3 separate regions of the Homo sapiens genome follow, and regions 2 and 3 are each linked to region 1. The links are contacts of gene promoters, found by promoter capture Hi-C in blood cells and fetal thymus (Javierre and others, 2016). All regions are on one chromosome and are shown on one strand. Each heading gives the region's core, a stretch centred on a gene start or on the middle of the fragment in contact. The rest is flanking DNA. Distances are from core to core; before and after follow the strand shown.

Region 1 (5,034 bases), core at 1,121-3,620:
TAAGATATACTTTTATATTTGGTCTTCACAACAAACCAGTGAGAGAATAACGTAACAACATTTTGAACACCCTCCCACTCTACCTTTTTTATCTTTCTGCTTTTTAATCTCAGCTACCTGTTTCTCCTCACGGTTGCCCACCCCAGCAAAAAACAAATAGGTCCTCAGAACCATACATCTGAAACAATAAGGCAATCTTTTTCACCAAAGATAAAACTCCAGCTTCTACTAATCAAGGCTTAAAAAAATCTTATGGTATCAGTTTCAGCTGGGGCATATGATTACCAATGATGAATGAATGCATTATTTCAAACATTTATTGGGTGTCACAGAGTTGGAAAAGCAGTAGTCTATGTTCTAGTCCCAGTCCTATGGCTCATTAGTTGAGAACTTAGAGGAAAGTAATTTATTTTTTTTCTTTCTTTATGACATTACCTGACCTCAAATTTTTTTCTGACCACAAAGTGAGACTTGAAATACTTTTGAAGATATGATACAGCAACTCATGATTTAAGGCCTGTATTGAAAAATATATAATGTGCCAAAAACTAATTAATTGTAACTAAGGTGAATTTTTAAGACTTGAGTGGACAGGGAATTTAGAAGAGGTCAAATTTCACAAGCCAACTAAAGGACATTATATTTCATCACCACTGTAACTTACCACAACAGATCTTGGCATTGCTGGCTTAAACACCGAACAGAATTCCAATAACCTTTTCTCATAGTATTTGCAGAGTGTCATTTCTTCATGAGGCTCAAGAAAGACTGGATCATTCGGAAGAACCTTTAGATCAACAATTACAACACAAGTTCAATGAATTCAATGAATTAAACAATTGTAAAACATTTTTCTCTATCTAGATTAAATTTAGTTTATATATCCAACGAAGGGTATATATCACGCCTCATTTTCTTTATAGATTCGCTAATCATTACACAAAATAGCTGTAGGAAAATATTTAATAAACTAAAACTGTACCATCATTTCACGACTTTTCGGAATGTCAGCTAGACCTTTGCTTCATTAAAGTATAAACAATCATGACAGGCTGTGTGCACATGCTCACAGTTGTGATATCATTATTTATAAATTAAAAAGTAGACAGACTTTTTAAAATATGATTGGAAAGCTTCCAACATCCGTTTCTCGGTCAGTCATTACGTCACAAGTTGTAAAAAAACAGCAAATGTTTCAATAAATTTCTGTTATTTTAAGCTACCCAGTTTGTGGTGATTTTTTTAAGGCAGCCCTTAGGAAACTAATTCAGGTGCTAAAATCAGTGATATGAAATAGATGTGAATTAAAGGTAGAAAGTAAAGTAACTCAGTATCGGTAATTTGGAGGCACTGAACACTTGCTGGAGTGGAGCTTGCAGGAAAGATTAAACCAGTCCGAGAGCTGTAACAGAAGGAACTTGGCTAGCGGGCCATAGTCCAAACCATCTTCAGTCACTTGGTTTGTACTTGGTCTCTGGTCTCCCTCCCTCATCCAACCCATTCACCACGAGGTTGCTAGAGCGCTGTTTCCAGAACGGAAATCTGATAAGGTTAGCTTCCCATTTTAAATATTTCAAAGGTTCCTCATCCTTTCAGTGGAAATGTTAAACGCCTCACTTCCACTTACAAGTTCCCTTCCTACCCTCCCCAGCCATTCCTGCACAGGTACTCAACTTCGGCCACATACGACCACAAACACGTCCACGCACCATCTCTGTAACTTCTGACCTCCCTCCCACTCTGAACGGTGGTTCTGACTGCCTGGAACTTCCTTTCCCATTTTCTCCGCATTGGCTACTGGGAAAAACCTTCCCCAACATCATCTCTTGACAAGTGAACGGCTCTTGCCACGCACTACCTTAGCACACTACTTACTCTCTTCTTCACTACGTTACAAAGACTGGTTACTTGTCTGCCATTCGACGACGGGGATGGCGTTGTTCGTCTTTGTACCCACGGAACCTGGCAAGGTGCTCGCTTATTTTGATAGAAAAACGCACTCCGCGCCGCAGAGGCAGAGAAACGACGGAGCGAGATTGTCCTGGGAGCCAGAAGAGCTCCCGCAGCTGCTCAGAATTTAGTGACCGGGCAACTGGGCAACCGTTGGGAAAACCTCACCTTCCCGTTGGCCACGGCTTTGCATCTGAATTTGCGGTTGGCGTCAGCCCGCAGTCTTGCCAGCTGCTCCTCGCTGGAGAAGGTCCAGTGCCGCTTCTGACTACTGTTGTGGTACATTATGGAATCGTGACCAGGTCCAGAGGGTCTGCAGACGAGAACCCAAACGCATCAGCGTCCTGGCGTAAAACACCCGTACCCCCACCGAAGATCTCGCGGAAGCCTAGGGCGTCCGGCTAGCCGGCGCTGGCGCGCTGTCGTCACGATTACGCGGCCAGCCCGTACGCAGTTGCATTTCCGGAGCGGACTAGGAACAGACCGTATCCCGGGTTCGTTAGGGCGCCCACTGAGACGTAAGTGGGCGGAGCCTAGAGAACGCTCCTCTCGGTGAGTCTGGGACATAGCTCCGCCCCTTCCAGGCAAGATTTAAAGGAGAAGCGCCCGGCAAGAGTGTTCAAGGGGCATAAACTGAGGGTACGGAGTAGGCAGATGTAAATTCACAGGGGATAATCAGAAATGAGGAAAGGATTTCGTAGGGTGCTCATTTTTAAATAGAGGCCTCACTGAAGTTGACATTTGTGAAAAGGCTTGAAAGAGTTGAAATAGTAGGTTGATCAATCATGTAGGGAGATCACGGGGCCCAGAAAGAATAGGTAAGATCTTCAGGCAGAAGCATTCCTAGCCCTTTTCAGGAAGAGTTTGGAGACCAGTATTCTTGAAGCACTACCAGAAATCTCGGAGAATGGAACATGGCTGAAAAACTTGAAGCAGTGGATGCGTATTGGCCCTTACAGTTCTGCCACTTTTGTTGCCTTGTCTGTTCTTTCTCTGTGCTTTTTTTCCTTACCCTTCTGTTGATAACTAGCCAATCCTCTCCCTCTGTTTTCATCTCTGAAGCCAGGATGTATGGTAGTATTCGTTTTATTGAGATTCCCATTTTCATTGCCTCTAGGGAGCCTTACAGTAAGCTATCATGAAAATTAAGGTATTTACTATTTTTTAAATTAATAGGACTTTCAAAATTGCAGGTGAGGTTCAAAATTTACATGGATTCTGGTTTGTCCCATTTAGGCATACCTTATTCTCTCATGTATTTATTATATATCCAATCCGAAAAATGGATTTCCCTATGGCAAATAGCTTTTCTAAAAAATAAATAAATAAATAAAAAGAAAGAGAAAGATGATGAGACCTAGAGAATTTAGGTCTTGAAAAGCCCACACAGGTAAAAAGAAGAAGTGGCAGGATGACTTTAACTCTGCTTTCTATTAAAATGTTTTTAGGGGCTTAAGAAAGGGAAAGCCTTTTCTTTTTCATTTTTGTTGGGTACAGCTGAGGTTAGAGTTTGCCACAGTTATCTGAATTCCTCAAACTTATGCCATTTGTGGTATATAATTTTGGAGAGCCACACACTCAACATATGTGGCTAACCTGGTCTCATAAATTGGCTAAGAAAAGAGAGAAAAAGAGAAGATCAAAGGGCATGGCAAATTGATTACAATGAATTGTGAACAACCTAAAATGTTGCATGTTGGGGAAAGAATAATTTAAAAGAGAAAAACATAATGGTACAAAAGATAGGAAAATAAGTGATCTAGATAATTAAATGTCTATATAAAGTCTTAGCCTCATGACTGTTATATATATCATATAAATTCTTTTCATTTTGTTTTTCTGAAAGATATTTGACAACTCCTTAGTTTTATGTAAAGGATAATAAAAATAGGCATTTAAAAGAGTTGGCAGACTGTGATTTCCACAGAGATATGAGTAAAATTTCTGAATGTCATTTAGGAAAAATATATGAAAAACCTGGCATTGCTGGTGTAATTTTTTTTAAACCTTGAACAAATTTTAGTCCATGAAAATTGACATTGATCTTATTTTTCAGATGTAGTAGGAATTGGGCTCTGTCTAAATTAACTGTCTGAGGAATACAATTGTTGCTGATGCCCTAACATTAAGGCTCATGTATGGTTTTTCTTACTAAGGTAAGCAGACTGGATGCTGTGACAGTCTCCTACTCAGCCTGTTGTGCGACAGTGTTTCTTTGCTATTGCTACCACAGGAGGCACACTGGAATGCAGAACTTGTGCCTTTACCTATTTCCATTTCTAGTTTCAACTAAAAAGTAGCAAGTGTTTCTCTTCACTTCTATTATTTTTACTTATTTATTTATGGAGAATTTCAAATATAAAGAATACAGAGAAACATATTTCAAAAATTATCAATACATGGCCAGTTCCCTTCTACCCTCCACCCACACCTCCATTAGGTTTTTTTCTTCTTCTTCTTCTTCTTTTTTGAGACAAAGTCTTGCTCTGTCACCCAGACTGGAGTGCAGTGGCACAATCTTCGCTCACTGCAACCTCCGCCTCCTGGGTTAAAGCCATTCTCCAGCCTCAGCCTCCTGAGTAGCTGGGACTACAGGCTCATGCCACCATGCCCAGCTAATTTTTGTATTTTTAGTAGAGATGGGGTTTCACCATGTTGGCCAGGCTGGTCTAGAACTTGTGGCCTCAAGTGATCCGCCTGCCTGGGCCTCCCAACTCCATTAGTTTTAAATCACAATGTCCCTGCTACTAAATGAAGATATTTCAAACAAGAACAAACCAACTAACCAGACAGAACCTATTCTTCCTAGAAGACATAGGGAAATTCACAGCTTGTTGACAAAGATATCACTATTTCATTAGACACTACTCAGAAGTGAAATGTTAAGAAATATTTCAATGACTTTTAAAAGTAAATACAATCTCTTTTATTGTGCTGCAGTTGTTAAATTGTGCTATGGTATGTACTTGTAGACAAATTCCAAATATTTTGACTTGCAGGCATTACCTGTAAACTAAGGGTTACCAATCAGAGATTAGGTGATGCCAAGCAGGTGTCATCTGTTTGGCCACCACAGAAATGTCC
Region 2 (5,034 bases), core at 1,363-3,862, 1.3 Mb after region 1:
CCCAGTCTTTCACATTTTTCTTCTGTGGGAATTTATAACTTATTCACCAAGTAAATTCCATATCACTTGTTTCTAGGGCCATATTTGCAGGACATGTGCCCCAACATAGCTTTTCTATTCTGGGCATATTTCTAAAAAGCGTATCAAATTCTAGGCTGAAAACCAACCAGATGATTTAGAATATGGGCAAGTTAGGATATGCACTTACTGAATTCCAAGATGCATGGTGAAATGGTGAGATCAGAAAGGGGCCCTGCATTTGATAAAAATGCAAAAAACAAAATAAAAATAGCATGAAAGAAACTAGTATATACAATGGATGTCAGTTGACCCAATAGATTGCTAATGTATTAAAAACAATTTAGGGTGTTGCAATGTGATATGTTCTAACCCCACAGGTTATCCTTTTGACAGCTGACCTTAAACTTATAAAATGTAAGCAGAGTAAAAGAAAACAGAAAGAAAATAGTTACTCAAATGTGCAACTGCACAAATATACCCCCCTCCCGCTATTAAGATAACAAAACTTCTGCTATTACCATAATATTATATATATTAGAAAGCTATACACAAGCATGTTAATTTCACAGATTTTTTTAAAAGATTCTTAATATTTTATATAATTAGAAATACACATTTCAAAAACAAAACTTCTACAAAGAGAAAACAGTTATCTTGGTTAGCAAAGCATGGAGTTCTTCATGGCTTAGGGTAGTGCTTTCTATACAAAAAGTCCTTTTTGGTTTTTTACAGGACTGTTTAAAATATTAGCGAAGCTATCAAGGGGAAAAAAACACATTTTGGCTTAAGTAAACTACAAAAAGCCACAAATGCTTTGCAAACTCTGTCTTACCTTTTATATGAAAATAAGCAAAATGTAATGTACATATTTTTATATTTTTATTTAATAAGAGATGCAGACCCAGATTTATTTATTTATTTAATTAAATATGTTAGCCCTCCAACTCCACATTTTTTTTTAATAGGTATGGTCCTCTTTTAATGGTCTCTGATCCTTTTTAATGAGTGCCATACGCCAATGATATGCCTGCAGGTTTGTGAGCATTCTTGGGATGTCAGGTGACCTGGTGTGTTCCTAACATTTACCAATGGCCACCCATTACCGGGTCTGTCCAAGCATCTATACATTTTTCTATATGTTGCATAACAGCTGCTCTCTCTTTCAGTAAAGATCTGCCGCTTTTGGCAAATGTTTCCTTTTGTCTATTTACATGTAAATAACGTTGAACCTGCAACATGACACTATCTATTGTAACATACATTTTGCAAAGGAGCACAACAGTGAAAAGAAGTTAGCCTTAAAATCTATTTTGTACAAGTGTTCTGTTGTACAACTCAAGTGCTAAGCTTATCTCAGCATTTCTGTTTATCTTTATACTGTATCACTGAGGCAATTTAAAAGTACTTTTACAAAACAGAGTACCTGACTTTTTTTTTTTCCACACACGGCACATATAATGCATATCGACCCCCCTTCCCCATTAAGGTATAGCACACACACACACTGCAAGAAAAAAAAAAAAACTAGTAAGTAATAATCTGATCATGTTGCCCATCCTTCAGAAAGTCGCATGCGCTTGACTGAGGGACTTTCCCTTTCGTCCGGCGAAGGTCTGGTGAGTCCAATGGGGGAGTGGAATTCGTTCCGGTGATCCTCTCGGTCGCTCCCGTCGTACGAACTGCTACAGCTGCTCAAGCTGTCAACAGGAGATCTCCCCGCCTCGTGGCGCGTGTGTTGTGGGTATCTCGAAGGGGTGGTGGTACGGTCTCTAGGAGGAGAAACAGGTTCTGACTTGATGTTGAGGCTTTGAGTAGAAGGCAGGGAGAGATTTGAACTCTGAGATAAATGAGTGCTAGTGCAAGCTCTGTAGGAGGAAAGGAAACCCAGTTACAGATGAAGGAGGCCTGGAGGCCCCAGGAACTCACAATTAAATCAAACATCAGCTTAAAGACTCGCATAGACACCAGAGCATGCCCAGAGTGAAGAAAACGTGCTTGGAAGCACATAAGGGCATCGCCTTCTCAGGGCGATTTAGGATGCCTTTGTTGATTTGCCCGGTAGTAATTACAGCATTTAACTGGTCCAGGCCTCATGAATTATATCTCTAGTCTCCGAGAGGCTCCCTAAACATATAGGTTACCATTTCAGAAAGGTTTAAGACACAATGGAAAAAGCATTTTCTGTGTTCATGGACTCTATCCCTAGACTAGTTCTAAAAATTAAATTTCTAAGCATTTAGATACAGTGTTTAGCTCTGGAATTAGACTTCCTTGATTTACTAATGCTTGTGTTTGAATATTATTTTTAAAAGCTTATTATCAATATAAATATTTGCCTCCAATTAATAAGCACATACAGATGGAATCACATAGTCTTCAGAGAAAGTGAAGGGAGTTAAATTTTAAATGACTAGAACTCAAATGCTGCACAATAACTGTATCTGGTAAAAAGCTTTGGAGGTGGAAAAAATGGAAAGGGGGAGGGAAATTGAAAATTATCTGCAGAAAGTTTAAACGTTGGTTTTCAAACACTTAAGACTTTCTACTCCATTAAAACTGATAATTTGACTTTCTTCATCCTTTTGCAGTTACATGAGATGAAAATACTTTGTGTTCCACAATGACCTCAATTTTATTAATGTTAGTCACTCCCTGATGCGTGCGGTTCTTAGGCTACCACTCCTCTTATTTATCATTGGCATTAGTTGATGAATCTGGTGTTGCCTAAGGAAAGCTTGTTGCCAAGAAGGATGTAGTGTGATTTTACTGTGTTTATAATCCTTAATCCTCATATATTCCCAGAGAGAATAATTTTTCCTTTTTCCAAAATCTGGGAAAATTTAGAAACTTGGAATTCTAGAGGAAAAAAGTATTAAGCCCTTAAGTGTAGATTAGCAATCACAATGACTTTGATCAGGATAAACCATAGTGGCATTGCTCGCATCAATTTTAAGATGCTTTTACTCTTCTTACACTAATTACACTGACTTCCAGAGCTAGAGTCAGGATTACTTGACTATATTGTCAAAAGAGCATGGTACTCTCTTTTACTGAGGAAGAATCCAAGTGAAGAATTATCCATACAGACACACCCATTTTAAACAAAGGAAAGCAAGCCTACTTACTAATGTATGTAATTATGCTGCTTTCCAGTGGAGAGAATTAGTTGGCACTAACAATGTCATTATGACCACTGAGAGAAAAAGTATATATTTCAGAAAAAAAGTGAAGTAACTTGGGGCTGGCTTTTTGGGAGATGCAATACAAACTCAAGATGTATAGTGATATAAAATTAGTCAGAAACGAGTTTATCTTTGAGTGATGTTTTGTACAAAAGCACCACCTACTGGCAAAGAATTACTTTCCTTCTCCTATTAATAAATAGATGAGCTAATGTAGAGAATAATATAAAGGAGAATTATTTGTTTCCTTAATAAGCGTCTCTTTCTCTAGCTTTTATGATCTTATATAATCAAAGCAGTGTTAGCATTTATATCAAGAAACTACACTGACTGTATATAATTTTCAAACACCTGTTTATATTTGGAGCTATTTATTTGTAGCTTATTAATTTATAGTCTATCAGTTTACTAATTTTCCAAAAGTTTTAATTAAATAAGCCTTGTTAAAATGGGGAGAGGGAACACCTGTATTTCAAAAGGATTCATAATGGTAGACTATTTTATCTTGGTTCAAAGTTACTTAGTGATTCATTCTGATGTTTGAGGAAATCGTCTTTTGATTTCTGGAATAAAGAATTTTCCTGGCTCTAAGAAAGACCATTTCACTAAAATTTAATTAAATGCTTCTGCTATGAATCACACAACTATTTAATAATGAATATGAATTAGGAGTCTGAAAATAAAAAGTGATATGTCAATAAATACTTTTGCTTGCTCTTTGACATACAGATTATGTCTTCACAGGGAGGGTGACATAGAAAATTAGAAGAAAAAATTGGTGAGTTGGACAGTCTAAGCAGTTAATCTAGACAAGGTAAGGGAAAAATAATATAACCAAAATTCTGTTTCTTTAATACAGTTTTTGGAAGCTGCATTATTCACCTCTTTGCATCATCTTCCTATGTTAACTGGCCTGTATAGGTTTAGCTGTGTATCTTCCCCATGAAAGATGTAACAATTATTGGTTATCCCTTCCTACAAACAGACTAGCTTAAATTTATCTTTTGGTGGAATTTCATTTGACACTGAAAACATACATGAAGCATTTTGAGTAGTTCTGGGGACTAAATCCACAGTAGTAAAATGCAAGTGATATCTTAGATTCAGCTTCATTATACTGTGACATAGGATATAAAATAGAATGGCTAGTCTCTGTTAACAAAGAAGTATTTTCTTGAAAAGAAAAAAGTAGCATTAAAATAACTTAACTGCATATATGCTAGGTTCAGATATAAGCATGTTGGTCTACTTGAGAACAAAATATAGACACGAATAATTATAGACCCTGATAATTGTGAAATACTGCATATGTGTGGGTGGGTGATAAAGAGGTGGGTGGGGAGATAGAAGCCAGATATGCAAGTTACCCATATCAAGTCCTCTATGCAAATTTTCATCTATTACAGATGCTTTTGAATTGGGAAAACTCCTACCCTTTCCCATAATTGTTCAGAAATCAAACATGACTGGATAGTTTTATTCAAAATTTTTACTGCCTCCGCCTGGAAATTAGACTATCAAACTATATTTAACCTAACCTTTTATAAGTCATCTCTACTCAGAGTTATCTCTCTCAGTATGTACTGAACACCCACATCAACAAAGTTGACGTATGGAAATGCTTCCAGAAAACAGGCTGCCCTTTTTATAGGTGGTGGTTTAGAAAAACACTAAAACTTAGTGTTACACTAAATCAAATATTAGTATTCAAAGGACTTTCATTAACTCTTGATGGCAAGTTCCTCTGTCAGCCATCTCTCTCCCTATAGCAAATAAATTTGTGTTGCTTACTTAGCTTGGTTAGATAAAATCAGATACTAGGTTTTAAAAG
Region 3 (5,034 bases), core at 1,856-4,355, 1.3 Mb after region 1:
CTATTTTTTAAAATGTTGTTTTACAGTCACATTCGATTTACTATTAGATTATCCTCGAATTAAAATAGCTGATACCATAATACTAAATACTAACATTTTAAAGCTATTGTTATGATGTGTTTACCATTGCCATTACTTTTAAAACCAAGGAAAGCACAGTCTGGTAAGACACAATCAGCAGTGAGATACAATCACAACACCACATAAGAGAAATGTAATGTATCATAGCTAGCCCTAGAAAAATAACATTCATCTGCTTTGTAATCTCTCAGATTCGATTGCAGCAAGGAAATATTTATACTTTCATGCAAAAACACATGAGAACCACGGTTTAGAATGGCTAAAATTTTGAGCAAAAAATAGTTTTGTCTTCATCACGTATTGTGTATTGAGCTTTTTTTGTTTTTCTCCTTCATCAACAAACTTAGCTTACCTTTCTTCTAATCTTTGAGGGCCCTGCTCTTTGCTTCCCAAGGTAATGACTGGGTCATTTGATAAAATGAGCCTAGGCTAATGTATTGATGGTTATAAATGTGTTAATGTGCAAATCTTTGGCCACAATTCCTTCAAGCTTTTCAAATCAGATATGAATCTTAATGAACACGTTTGGAGGGAATACTCTTTGTTGTCTAACTTTAGTAAGGGGAACATAATGGTACTACATAAACTCACTCTTTTAAGGCTGGCCTGTCATAAATGCTTAAATACTCATCAGTGCAATTATGAAGAAAGCCCATTAGGGAAAGAATTGAAACCTAGCATATCTGGAACATAAGATAGCTGAATTTAAAAAAAATAGCTAAGACAGCTTTAAAATTTAGACAGTAGAAGACCCATTTATAATTCTTAGACATTAATTTTAAAAGATCATTCAATGACAATTTAAATTATTGGGCTTGTGCTAGAAAGAAGACTACTCTTCTCCTATGTTGAAACCACATTCACCTTTCTGTCCCCAGAACACTTGCTTCTTCCCTTTATAATTGGTGTTCTCTATGCCTGGAACACTTCCCACAGAAATTAACATGATTGCATGCTCATTGCATTCTCAGGAAGCATTCCTAGGCCAAACTAGCTCAACCCATTACCCCATCACTCTCTACCACATTTGTATTTTAAAAATAGAATCTGTAATAATCTGAAAGAGCTTTGTTTCTATATTCGTTTACACTTTTAAATATACTTCTATTACAGGAACCACCAAGAGGTCAGGGACTTTGCCTGCCTTACTCATTACACAGCAGATACTCAGTAAATATTGAATAAATGATTAAATATGTCTATTTGTGATATAGGTCATCTTTTGGATATCTCGATCATTAGCCATTCTTCATTTGTATATATTATGCATACAAAAAAAGCACCAGTTCTGTTTTGTTTTCTAGTAACAATACATTTCTTAACCAGAAGCTAAAGTGGTTTGGGATAAGGCAGAACCTGGTTTAGAAATTAATGCAGAGAAATAGCTAGTTGGAAAGAATACTTGCTACGTACACCATTTCTTTTAGAAGACAACTTGCTAGTAGCAAGGGATTGTGTTATGCATAGATTTTACAAAATATCAAGACTACAGTAATCACTGAATACTTGCATTCATTTATTCATTAATTCAGCAAACATCCATAGTATGGCACTCTATGGTTGGTGCTGTGCACACAAAAATAATTAACATGATTCTCTCACAAGTTAGAGGTACAGTGACAGTCACCATCCTTTTAGGTAAAACTGCAAGCAGGAAAAATAAACTGCAGTGCATCTAGTCATTTTTCCATTTGCTTTCATTTCCTTCCTTCTTTAGGCACCCTTTGTATCTGGCTCTCCTTGTTTCTTCAATCAACTGTAGAAAAGTATCTGATAAAATTTCATACTAAAGTGTAAGAGATTTATATTGGCTATGTCCTAGAGATATTTACTTTATATCAAATTAGAAAGCAAATGAGAAACTCTCTAATTATGGACTTTCCAAACCAGACAGGAGAAGGTAAAATTATTTTTAAAGCCGCTGTTCCTGAAATCACACCGCCTAGGAAACTGATTAATTTGTTTATTCATTAACTTTGAGAACTTCACATTGAGCAACAAAAGGAGTCTTCTGTAAGATATAATTGGTGAGACTCCATGGACACTTCTAAAACTAAGTAAGTTCCTTCAATGCATTTAACATTTGGAGGGAGGATACTTTTGGTGTGTTCCTTTCTCTTTTTTTTTCCCTTTCCTTCTTTTCTTCCTCCCTTCTTTTTCTTTCCTCCTTCTCCTTTCTCCTCATCCTCTTCCTGATCCTTCTCCCCCTCTTGCTCTTCCTCCTTTTTTTCTTCCTTCTGCTTCATTTTTGCTCTTACTTTCTCTCCTGGAAATCCTGAAGATATGAGGAAATGTTGTAAGAAAAAAAAAAAGAAGAAAGGGATTTTCAGGACTTAGCCAGCATGACCAGGCAGTCAGAGGCAATGAAGAAATTACTTGGAAGGAATAGGTTGGTGTTGGGGTCTATTCAGTTGTTGTCCTCTCCTTTTGGCCTGACTAGGGAAATAGTGATAGAAGTGGGGTATTTCCTAAGCTTAGATGCTTGAATTATTCATTAGTCTAAAGTAAATTAACATTTAGAGGCAGGTGACACACATTTTCTTGAACAATTATTATCACTAATCATCATTTTCCACAGTAATTTGTATGCTCTCATTATTAGCTCTTGATTTCTATGTAAATCCTTTCCATAAAACTGCCACAAGATGGAAGTTTTTTTATTGGCTCTCTTTACCTCTTGATATATTTCTTGGCATTTTGGCATTCCTCATCTGGCACTTGATGGCTGGGTTTTCAGATTAGGCTGACTGTTGACATGCCCATATAAAACATTCTTTCATTGAGCATATTGCATTTATACAGGAGGCCACCTTGTCCCACCTTCTGCCATATTGTGCCCATATTTTTTTATGTCAATTGTCCAAACATTGACTCTCACATTTTCCCCCTTTTGATTTTTCATTGTGCACCACATTTGACACTTTAACTACTTTTACTAGTTGTCCATGCCTTGTCACAAAGACTGAAACTGACACAGGTTTTGCCTAAACAGTTGCCTTGAATAAGTACATTTGTCATATGGATATCCCCTTCAAATCCTTTAGAACACCTTGGATACTTTTCTGCTAATCTTTTCTTACAGTTATTTGGGCTCCAGGACTCAGCTACGTGAAGGGAACTATCATTCTTTGTAACAGTTATTTCATACCAACAGTAAATTTTTAAATAAACCCCAGAAAGTGTTCTTGAGATTAGCTAGTTCATGGCAGCCTGTGGCTTGTGTCCCTGTCTGGCTCCTGAGGGAATGATCCAGTTTGATTGAAGAATTGCTGATAATTCTACTAAATTGAAAGAGTTCCACTTTGATCTAATATAATATCTAAAATTTTTACCTTTAGAATAAACCTCATTATACTGGTGAGGAGAGGGATGGACACCCTAGAAAGAGTCAATGCATTAATTTCCAGCATTTACAGGTTAAGTGACACTTAATAAATCATTGAAGAGTCGCTTAACCTGTGAATGAGACCCGTAAATGAAACCATCTCATTCAAGTCCTGGCTCTCTGATTTACCAATGGGGTGACCCTATGGCAAGTTAATTCATCCTATGCCTCAATTTTTCTCACCCATAAAAAAGCTTTACTGATTGTGCCTATCTCACAATGTTGTTATGAGGATTCAATGAGTTAATGCCTGAAAACCTGAAATTAGTGCCTGGCATCTAGTAAGTACATCTAGTGTCAGCAAAGACTGTGATGATGATGGTGAGGATGGTGGTACATGAATAGTTTTCCTGGAACAAAAAAGGATGAAGCCTTAGCAAAATGGACACAAATATATAATTTTTTTTATCTCCAAAATTGGGTAAGAATGGTCTGAAGAACAGGTGATATTGTTTGGATATTCGTCCCCAGCCAAATTTCATGCTGAAGTGTAATCCCCAAAGCTGGAGGTGGGGCCTGGTAGAAGGTGTTTGGATCATGGGAGTGGATCCCTCATGGCTTGGTGCTGTCTTCATGATAGGGAGTTCTAGCAAGATATGGTCACTTAAAAGTGTGTGACACTCCCACTCCTGCACCAGCCCCACTCTCTCTTGCTTGCTCCTGCTGTTGCCATGTGACTTGACTGCTCCTCCTTTGCCTTTTCCCATGATTGTAAGTTTCCTGAGGCCTTCCTAGAAGCCAAGCAGATGCCAGCACCATGCTTCTTGTACACCCTGCAGAACCTTGAGCCAATTAAACTTCTTTTCTTTATAAATTACCAGTCTCAGGTATTTCTTTATAGCAATGCAAGAACAGCCTAACACAACAGATATTTCCTGTGGAGAGCAGGCCTAGGTAAGTATCTCTAAGAGAAAGTCCTAGGTAGCCCCAACATCCTCACATGGCTGAGGAATGTATTGTGCCTGATCCTTCACAAGTGTTCAGGGCAAACGTTGTGACTAAGCTCCTGCAACAAGCATTCATTGTTAAAGACTCTGAAGAGAAGGTGGTTTAGTGAAGGGGTTGAGTGACTTTTCCCTAAAGAAGCTTTGCAGCCTTAGCAGAGCTATGCTTTTCATGACCCCTTTCTGGAACCAATTTCATGGTTACAAATTATGCACGAACATCTCCAGTTGGTTTCCTACATTAAAAATACTGCCTCAGTTTTAAATTTTACCTGAAGGCTGGTTACACCAAGCTCTTACCTGTCATATTTTTAATGCATTAAGTCTGTATTCTGGCTCATTGTTGAGTCTTGTCATTTTGGCCAGAAAATGTAACTGCAGTGCTACTGACATTGTCCTAATGGTGTCTTTACATAAAATACAATTTTCTTAAACAAGGAAGAAAAGCAGCTTCAAGATCAGTGACACCAACACTGTAAAGTAAGGGTTTTAACTTCAAGACCTATTCAAACAGTTATCTGTGTCAGCATACGTGTGTGTGTACACACACACACAGACTTCAGAGACGCAGGCAGAGAAAAACACAGGATAACATTCCACATCATTGTGAAGCTTCCAGAAGTA

The links. Contacts are between HindIII fragments. The CHiCAGO score rates a contact against its expected background, and 5 or more counts as called.
Region 2: a fragment that was not itself captured here is called in contact with the fragment with the promoter of CCNH in region 1 in 1 of 17 cell types (M2 macrophages); the score reaches 13.1 in M2 macrophages.
Region 3: a fragment that was not itself captured here is called in contact with the fragment with the promoter of CCNH in region 1 in 2 of 17 cell types (M2 macrophages and endothelial precursors); the score reaches 7.2 in M2 macrophages.

What each region holds. Positions count from the first base shown.
Region 1 is chr5:87,410,560-87,415,593 of GRCh38, forward strand. CCNH (cyclin H) reads right to left here and starts at 2,371. Exons shown (of 9, transcript NM_001239.4): 1 at 2,119-2,371; 2 at 665-787. The coding sequence starts at 2,235. It overlaps LOC105379066 (a long non-coding RNA gene), which reads left to right and starts at 2,423. Exons shown (of 3, transcript XR_948543.1): 1 at 2,423-2,502. RefSeq lists enhancers at 1,998-2,127, 2,158-2,327. The HindIII fragment of the contact is 6,680 bases long and covers 1,132-5,034 here.
Region 2 is chr5:88,721,040-88,726,073 of GRCh38, forward strand. MEF2C (myocyte enhancer factor 2C) reads right to left here. Exons shown (of 11, transcript NM_002397.5): 11 at 1-1,886. The coding sequence ends at 1,565. It overlaps MEF2C-AS2 (MEF2C antisense RNA 2), which reads left to right. Exons shown (of 4, transcript NR_146284.1): 4 at 1,585-1,792. Among named protein-coding and RNA genes, the nearest start is that of GSCAR, 26 kb to the left of the region's middle. The HindIII fragment of the contact is 282 bases long and covers 2,472-2,753 here.
Region 3 is chr5:88,697,459-88,702,492 of GRCh38, forward strand. All of the region lies in intron 1 of MEF2C-AS2 (MEF2C antisense RNA 2), which reads left to right. Among named protein-coding and RNA genes, the nearest start is that of GSCAR, 2.8 kb to the left of the region's middle. The HindIII fragment of the contact is 1,106 bases long and covers 2,553-3,658 here.